2 separate regions of the Homo sapiens genome follow, and region 1 is linked to region 2. Evidence: promoter capture Hi-C in 16 types of primary human blood cells and fetal thymus (Javierre and others, 2016). All regions are on one chromosome and are shown on one strand. The core of a region is centred on a gene start or on the middle of the fragment in contact, and the rest is flanking DNA. Distances in the headings are between cores, read along the strand shown.

Evidence for each region. The method cuts DNA at HindIII sites, captures the fragments that hold promoters and counts their contacts. A CHiCAGO score of 5 or more calls a contact.
Region 1: a fragment that was not itself captured here is called in contact with the fragment with the promoter of TACR1 in region 2 in 2 of 17 cell types (megakaryocytes and erythroblasts); the score reaches 5.9 in megakaryocytes.

What each region holds. Positions count from the first base shown.
Region 1 is chr2:75,547,623-75,551,605 of GRCh38, reverse strand. All of the region lies in intron 1 of EVA1A (eva-1 homolog A, regulator of programmed cell death), which reads left to right. Among named protein-coding and RNA genes, the nearest start is that of EVA1A, 11 kb to the left of the region's middle. The HindIII fragment of the contact is 1,396 bases long and covers 1,614-3,009 here.
Region 2 is chr2:75,197,639-75,201,957 of GRCh38, reverse strand. It overlaps TACR1 (tachykinin receptor 1), which reads left to right and starts at 2,438. Exons shown (of 5, transcript NM_001058.4): 1 at 2,438-3,412. The coding sequence starts at 3,024. The region is part of intron 2 of TACR1-AS1 (TACR1 antisense RNA 1); the gene reads right to left. The HindIII fragment of the contact is 965 bases long and covers 1,834-2,798 here.

The DNA of each region.
Region 1 (3,983 bases), core at 1,062-3,561, 350 kb before region 2:
CCAGGCATGTGCCAGATTGCTTCCGAGAGTGGCAGTACTAGGGCACAACACTGACCTCAGGGAAGGAAGGAGAGAACCCAGTGAAGTCAACAGGGAAGGGGATGTGCAGAAAGGCAGGAGGAAATGGGAGACTGGGATGCGGAAGAGGAGAGTTTCCAGGAGAGGGGGATCAACAGCTTCAAATGATATGGAAGAATGAGAGATCTGAAATGTTCACGGATTTGGAAATTCCAAAGCTATTGACGACTTGGTGAGAGGAGTCTAACAGATGAGGGGAGTCTAACAGATGAGGGGAGCTAATGAACAAATGTGAGGTGAGGAAGTGGACATACCAAACTTTAGCAATTGTTTTTAGAGGCTTGTCTATGAAAGTAACATGCAAGAAAAGACAGCAGCTAGAGGTATTAGGTAGAGACAGTGTTTTAAAGATGGAAAAGACCAGCACGTTTTTTTTGGTTTTTTTTGTTTTGTTTTGTTTTGTTTTTGAGCAGAGTCTTGCTCTGTCGCCCAGGCTGGAATGTGTGGTGCGATCTTGGCTCACTGCAACCTCTGCCTCCTGGGTTCAAGTGACTCTCCTGCCTCAGCATCCCAAGTAGCTGGGATTACAGACACACACTACTATGCCTGGCTAATTTTTTGTATTTTTAGTAAAGACAGCATTTCACCATGCTGGCCAGGCTGGTCTCGAACTCCTGACTTCGTGATCTGCCCTCCTTGGCCTCCCAAAGTGCTGGGATTACAGGCGTGAGCCACCGTGCCTGCCCGACCAGCACATATTATAGAGTGGTCACAAATGGACTATGCACGCTGGGAGAGGTGTCTCCATGTTTGCTTCTCTTTTCCACACAGATTTCTAATATTTCTCTTCATATTCTGGATGGCTTCCATGTTGATAGTTGGATATCATTAAAGAAATTCTGGACAGGTGTTTCAGGTCTTCAGCTTTTATTAGATGGAGCAGAGAAAATGTCTTTCACAATGCCCAGTGGTGACTTATCACTTGTTGTTAAGTCCAGACCATGTCAAATTCAGGTGCGTTCAGTATATCACCCACTCAATTTGCCTTCAAAGTATTCCTCAATAGAGCATGATGTACTGAAGCTCCACTTCAGGCATGGGGAATTGGCATCTGCTGTGTAGATACTTGGAGGTAAGGATGGCAACAGCACCAAGGTTTCAGGAGGAAGGAAGAGGACCTAGACCATAGTGGGGTTATGGGGAGGAGACACCAGCTTTGGACTGGAGAAGAGACACCTGCTTCTCTGAGCAAAGGGAAAGGTAGTTGGGGATGAAGGCAAATATATGAGAGGAGACAGAGAGTTGTTTAGACCTTGTAGGAAATGAAAGGTCCATTATAAGATTTGCTGGAGTGACAACCCTCTGCTTGGAATGACCCTAGAGGATTTGACCACTGCCATTTAAAGTTCTTAATAATGGAAAAATAGGGGCATTTCCTGTGAATTCTTTGTTACCAGGTTTAGAGACTGCATCCCAGAGCCTCCCAGAAGCCATCCCAGAAGATGTTTTTATCTAGGGGCAAAGACAATCTCTGTTTTCATACTTAAGATTCTTTTGTTCAGACCAGAGGCAGATACCATAGAGGGTTAAAAGCTTGACTTAAACAAGAAATTCAGCTTTGCCTTGGTTCATGTTCATGATGCTGACATCCCTGAGGCTCAGGGCTGGAATTAGAATTTGGCTGCCAACTTCAAATATTTGCTTTGGTTGAAATGGCATCTTTGCTCTTCTTGGAAACATCTCAGTGAAATGCACACACCTTCACAGAGGGCCTTTATGGAAAGGGCTCTCCCAAAGGGCACCATCCTGAATCCAAAAGGCCACACGGGAAATGGCCTTGGGGTATTTTTCTTTCCCCACACAAAGCAGCAGCTCAGCTGAATTATTTGTTTGATCTTGAGCCTTCAGGTATCAGGAAAAGTAAACAGTACATCATTCAAGAGTCACATTTCCAGCTTGAAGGTTCCCTGGAGGACAGCTTGAAGGTACTGGAGGACACTGTAGGAGGCAAGGAAGGATCATCCCTGCCGGACCCCTCCCCACTCTCCTCCCAGCCAGGTCTCTCACCTGGATGTGGGCATGTGCAGAGTCCCTTTGGCTGGGTGTGGGTGTGATGGACAGACAGGGCACTCTCCTTAGGGACTCTTTCTTCCATCAGAGGGAAGAAGCTGCAGGTGTTTTGCCCCACTTTTCCTCAGTAGACAAAGAGTGGTGGAAGTGCTTCCCCAGGAAGGTGTGGCTGGGATGCTGTGTGGCTCCGCACAAATGTGGTTCGGTGAAGTTACATAATCCCATACTTGGCTTTATTCCTATTCCACAGGGTCTGAATTTTCTGTCATGAAAAAGTCCTATGTACATGTTCCACACTGATTCCCACAAATGAGTGCACAGGGCTGTATACATGTGTCAGATATCCACATCTAAGCTATCACTGGTGCTTCTGCCCATCCAACCTTCTGGATTGTGGCAGGGTGCAAAAGGGTTTGGGAGGCAGTACACTGTGTGCCCATAAAGCAACAGCTGTGATACCTTAGATTCTCTTTCATTTGTATTTGATTTATTAGTAAAAAAAAAAAAAATATATATATATATATATATATATATTTTTCATTTAGCCAGTCATCAGTTCATTTAATAATTTGAACAACTATGTGGCTGGCTCAAGGCTAGATGATGGTAAAGTGATGGTGATTCTGACAGTCTTAGTTCCTGCCTTCTGGGGGCTCACAGTTATTACGGGATGGGCATTCAAGAAGTAAATACACAGATAAAATACATGATGATTATAAACTGGTAACTGCTATCCTGGACAAGAACAGGGTGCTCTAGGAGGGAATGAGAGAGGTTTAGGTTGGGGGTGTCCAGTAAAGGAGAAAGATCTGTAGGCGCATATTCATTCTTTACAACATGCTGTCTATTGAAGGGATGTCACAGGGTGCTAAGGGAACTCTAAGGAAGGAGTGCCTGACCCTTGAATAGGGCTGAAAAGCTTCGGAGGGAAGGGACATTTAAACATAATCTTAAAGAATATGTGAAATTTTTTCATGTGGAAAGGGAGTAGAGATGTTACAGGTGGAGGCAACACGTGGTGTTTGGGGGGACTCTTAATCAGCAAGAGTGGGACATAGGGGAGTGGCAAGAAATGAGCAAGGAGGCCAGGCAGGGTGGCTCACACCTATAATCTCAGCACTGTGGGAGGTCAAGGCAGGCAGATTGCTTGAGCCCAGGAGTTCAGCACCAGCCAGGCCAACATGGCAAAACCTCATCTCTACCAAAAATACAAAAATATTAGCCAGGCATGGTGATGTGAGCCTGTAATTCTAGCTGTTTGGGAGGCTGAAGTGGGAGAATCCCTTGAGCACAGGAAGTGGAGCTGGCAGTGAGCCAAGATCACGCTTCTGCATTATAGCCTGAGTGACAGAATGAGACCCTGTCTCAAAAATAAATAAATAAAAGAGAAATGAGCTAGGAAAGACAGGCAAGGGCCAACTACTCAATGTAGGTTTTTTATGAGAGGCAAGTCACTGAAGGGAATGGCAACTTACCCAGGGCCTGGCAGACTTTTTCTGTAAAGGATCAGATAGTAAGTATTCTAAGCTTTGTGGACCTACAGTCTGTCATAGCTATTCAGCTCTGCCACTATGGTGCAAAAGGAGCCACAGACAATATGCAAATGAGTGAGTGAGTGTGGCTATGTGATAGTAAAACTTTATAAACAAAAACAGGCAGTGGGCTGGATTTACCCATGAGCAGTAGTTTACCAGCCCCTGCTCTAGAGTGATAATGCTGGTGGGTGACTCTGTGAATGCTGAATTGGAGGATGGGGAGAGAATGGAGGTAGGGAGCCAGTTAGGAGCTATTGCTTTAATTCAGGGAACTTAAGGAAGGGACGATGGGGAGAAATGGTTTGTGGTGTGCTCCAAAGTGAAAATGACAGGACTGCAGACCAATTTGATGAGAACATG
Region 2 (4,319 bases), core at 1,189-3,688:
GACCTGCGCTCCAGTCCCTATGCAAACCTGGAAGGTGAGCAGGGAGAAGAACCCCTGATGCCACCCAGGGCCCCGCTCTGACCTGCAGGCTCATAGGTGGGCAGTCATTATGGGACTTTAAGCAGAGTGACAAGGTTTGATTTATAAAACTTCAGCCTGAAATATTCGCCTTTTTTCCACCCTCAACCTCTTCCCATCCTAACTCATTCTTCAGGCTTCTTCATGGATGAGATTTTCTTCCATCTGTACGGATACCCCTCATTGTTTAGGTTAGGTGGCCTCCCTCTTCTCTCCTCACTCAGGGCTTAGTACCTTTGGTCATCATAATACCGCCCATTTTGTATGGTTCATTGCTTCTTGTTTGTCTTCCTCCATACTGTAAGTGCTTGTTCACCCCCCAGCCCCAGTGCCCAGCACAGTACCTGCTTCAAAATATCAACTTGCTGTACTAATGGAGGATAAATGGATTAATGTTTACTTTTTAGCTATTTCATATTTATTTTATATTTAGCTCTTATTACATATTTAGATTTTATTCGATTAGCTTTCTTTTTCTCCCTTAACCACTGAATAAAGTTCCTTTTGAAAACGTCAGCCTGGCTCTAATGGACAGGGAGAAAAAAGAAAAGATAACTTTAAACAGCTTGGAAGGAAAATTAAAGATAGAGAAGTTTCCCCTCCCCCCTCCCCCACCCTCCGCATCCCCTTCCCTCTCCCTTTTCCTCCCTCTCTCTGTCAGCTCTTTGAGATGGTGGAAGCCTCAAGCAGAGATCCAAGGTGGAGGAGGCATTCCCTTCCACAAAGAAGACCTCTTGTGCAGCCGCTCTAAATAAAGGGACGCTGTTCTCTTGAAAGCATCTCTAGAGTTTTCTATGCAGTGTGTTTACGGGTGCCTAGGAGAACCTGGCAAAGCAATGTGCGGTTCCTATATACGCTAAAATCCCAGGCTCCGAAAAAATACAGAGTGAAACAGCAGATTCTCCTCCCCGGCGTGGGATCCAATTTTTGCCCGGCATAAGTGTATAGTAAATTTCCCAGCCTTAAAGCACTTCCCGAGAGATGCTTTGAGCGCTCGCGGTACCAGTGCGTAAACGCCGCTCCCCGGCTGGCGCGGGTGTGCGCCAACTCCAACCTGCGCGCAAGTCTGCCGGTGCGCGCTCCAGTCCCACAGCTCCGAGTCCCCGCAGTGAAAGGAGGGGGCGGTGCACCGGGGTAGATGGGCCCCTGAGGACTCCCGGGGTTCAGTTTTCCGCGGAACTCTGCCTGCAGCAGTCTGGCGGGAACGTGCTGCGGAGCTCATCCCATCTTGGCTTCTCCAAAAGGGTTTATACGGACTGGCGAGTCTTTGCCCTGCCTCCTCCAAGTGTCTGGCACCAGTTCTACCGTTTGAAATGGTCTTGGACTGGGATACGAGGCCTCAAAGTCAGAAGACGGCAGGGCAGGATGGAGGCGGGCAGAGAAGGCTGGCTGACCTGTCCTCCAGCCCCTATGCAAACCTGGAAGGGGAACAGGGAGAAGGACCACCGATGCCACCCCGAGCCCGGCTCTGGCCTGCAGGCTTGGCAGGCGCGGAGGCGGAGGCTGCCAGGTCCCCGGGAGGCAAACGCAGCGCCGCAGTGATTGCTGGCGGAGAGCCCAGAGCCGCGCGTCTGAGCGACAAGCTGCCTATGAGTGTGGCTCCTGCGCTCACCAAGATTCGCAGGGAGCTCAGCCCTGTCCCCAGTGATTGAGCAGAGGCTCATCCAGAGGGGTCAGGTGGAGGGCTCAAATGGAGCTTCTCCTGGAACGAGGGGCCAAGTCACCAGGGTGGCTGAGGAAAGTGTCCTCAAAGCTTAGAGACTGTCACTTCCCAGGTGAATCAGCTAGCCAGGTAACTGAGCTAGATATTTTGTGGGGGTGTTTCCTAAACACAGCCTCAGGAAAGTTGTTTTCGGGACACCTGGACCAGGGAGTCGTCGCCTCTGGCTTCTCGGTAGCTGGAGCGCGGCCCGGAGCGCGGCGCTGGCACATCGCCCCCACACATGACCGTTTCCCATTGCCACAGGCAAGCCGCCTCTGCAGAGCTGTCTCAGGGCTCTGGGCTTCATTCCCTGGAAGTTGATTGTCCTCCACTCCAGCTGTTTCCCAAATCCTTCCTTCCTCCCAGCACCCCTCGTGCAACGACGATTCCAGCTGCGGACCGCATCTGTGTCAGTTACTTCCAAGCCACCTACTGCCCCCTCGCGGAGTGCGTGGGGCTCCCGGCTCGCAGACTCCCACGGCAAGTAGCAAGCAGCAAAAGGCGTGGTAGCTGCGGCGGTGGAATGAGACAGTTGTCAACAGCTGGCGCAGCTGCCGCGCTGCGCACCGGGACTGGCGAGTACGCAGCCCAGGTACTGCCCCTTCCCAGTGACGTCTCTGCAGGGGGTTATAAAAGCCTCGTGCGCAGCTAACTCGCGAGCTGAGCAACCCGAACCGAGAGGTGCCCGCGAAACTGCAGGCGGCGGCAGCGGCAGCAAAAGAGAAGGAAAAATCTCCAGCTGGATACGAAGCTCCAGAATCCTGGCCATAGGCTCAGAACTTTTACAGGTCGCGCTGCAATGGGCCCCCACTTCGCTCCTAAGTCCTCACGCAGCACAGGGCTTTGCCTTTCCCTGCGGAGGAAGGAGAAATAGGAGTTGCAGGCAGCAGCAGGTGCATAAATGCGGGGGATCTCTTGCTTCCTAGAACTGTGACCGGTGGAATTTCTTTCCCTTTTTCAGTTTACCGCAAGAGAGATGCTGTCTCCAGACTTCTGAACTCAAACGTCTCCTGAAGCTTGAAAGTGGAGGAATTCAGAGCCACCGCGGGCAGGCGGGCAGTGCATCCAGAAGCGTTTATATTCTGAGCGCCAGTTCAGCTTTCAAAAAGAGTGCTGCCCAGAAAAAGCCTTCCACCCTCCTGTCTGGCTTTAGAAGGACCCTGAGCCCCAGGCGCCAGCCACAGGACTCTGCTGCAGAGGGGGGTTGTGTACAGATAGTAGGGCTTTACCGCCTAGCTTCGAAATGGATAACGTCCTCCCGGTGGACTCAGACCTCTCCCCAAACATCTCCACTAACACCTCGGAACCCAATCAGTTCGTGCAACCAGCCTGGCAAATTGTCCTTTGGGCAGCTGCCTACACGGTCATTGTGGTGACCTCTGTGGTGGGCAACGTGGTAGTGATGTGGATCATCTTAGCCCACAAAAGAATGAGGACAGTGACGAACTATTTTCTGGTGAACCTGGCCTTCGCGGAGGCCTCCATGGCTGCATTCAATACAGTGGTGAACTTCACCTATGCTGTCCACAACGAATGGTACTACGGCCTGTTCTACTGCAAGTTCCACAACTTCTTTCCCATCGCCGCTGTCTTCGCCAGTATCTACTCCATGACGGCTGTGGCCTTTGATAGGTGAGATTAGCCTTTGTGAAAAGGCGAGAAAGTGCTCATAGAGGACCACGGCATTGCTGTGAGGTTTGGAACTGGGTGGGGTATGGGTCAAGTGGAAGATTGGCCACTCTGAGGGTTTTTTTACTGATCAACTGAGTCATTTGTTGATGGGGAACTTCATCTTATGTATTTCAACTTTTTTTCCTCTTTTTTACCCATCACTCTCTCTCTTCCTTTCAACACACATCCCCCTTTTCTTCATTTAACTCCCCTTTCTTCATCTCTTCTCCACTCATCTTCCTGACACTTTCAACTTCTGCTTTGCTCCTTTCCATATATTCCTTCTCCCCTTTACCCTTGCAGGCTGCAAACAATACCTAGGGTTTGGTCAAAGGACTAGACCCTGGAAGGGGCTTTGTAAATTCCTCCAGGCCTGTTTTTCTGTCAGACAGCCTCTTGTTGCCTTCCTGTTTTAAGTACACCTAGAGGATTCTGGGACTTTCTGCTCCCACTGCAACTCTCCAGTTTGTTGTTGTAGTTGTTGTTGTTGTTTGGTTGGTTGGTTCGTTGGTTTGTGTTTGTTTGTTTGTTTGTTTTGGATGTGAAAGAGCATTTCATCAGTATCATAAGATACTCAGAATTCTAATGCAGTTTACTCTGTAATGCTAGGAATTCTCATTCAGGAATGAGAGACAGTTATGCTATCCTTAAGAAACTCCACGGATAGGGATCCAGGAAGCTTACCCAAGAGGTGTTCTAAATTTCTCCTGCAATGTAAAATGTATGTATTTAGCCTGTCTCTATCCACAGAGAAACATGCTTGGCAAAGGCATTTGAGAGCTCTTCTGTTCCGGCAACCAACAGGTTAGGGTTCCCAAAGCTGACTGAAAGTGAAAAGGTTGGCATTTCAAACACTGGGGATGGTATT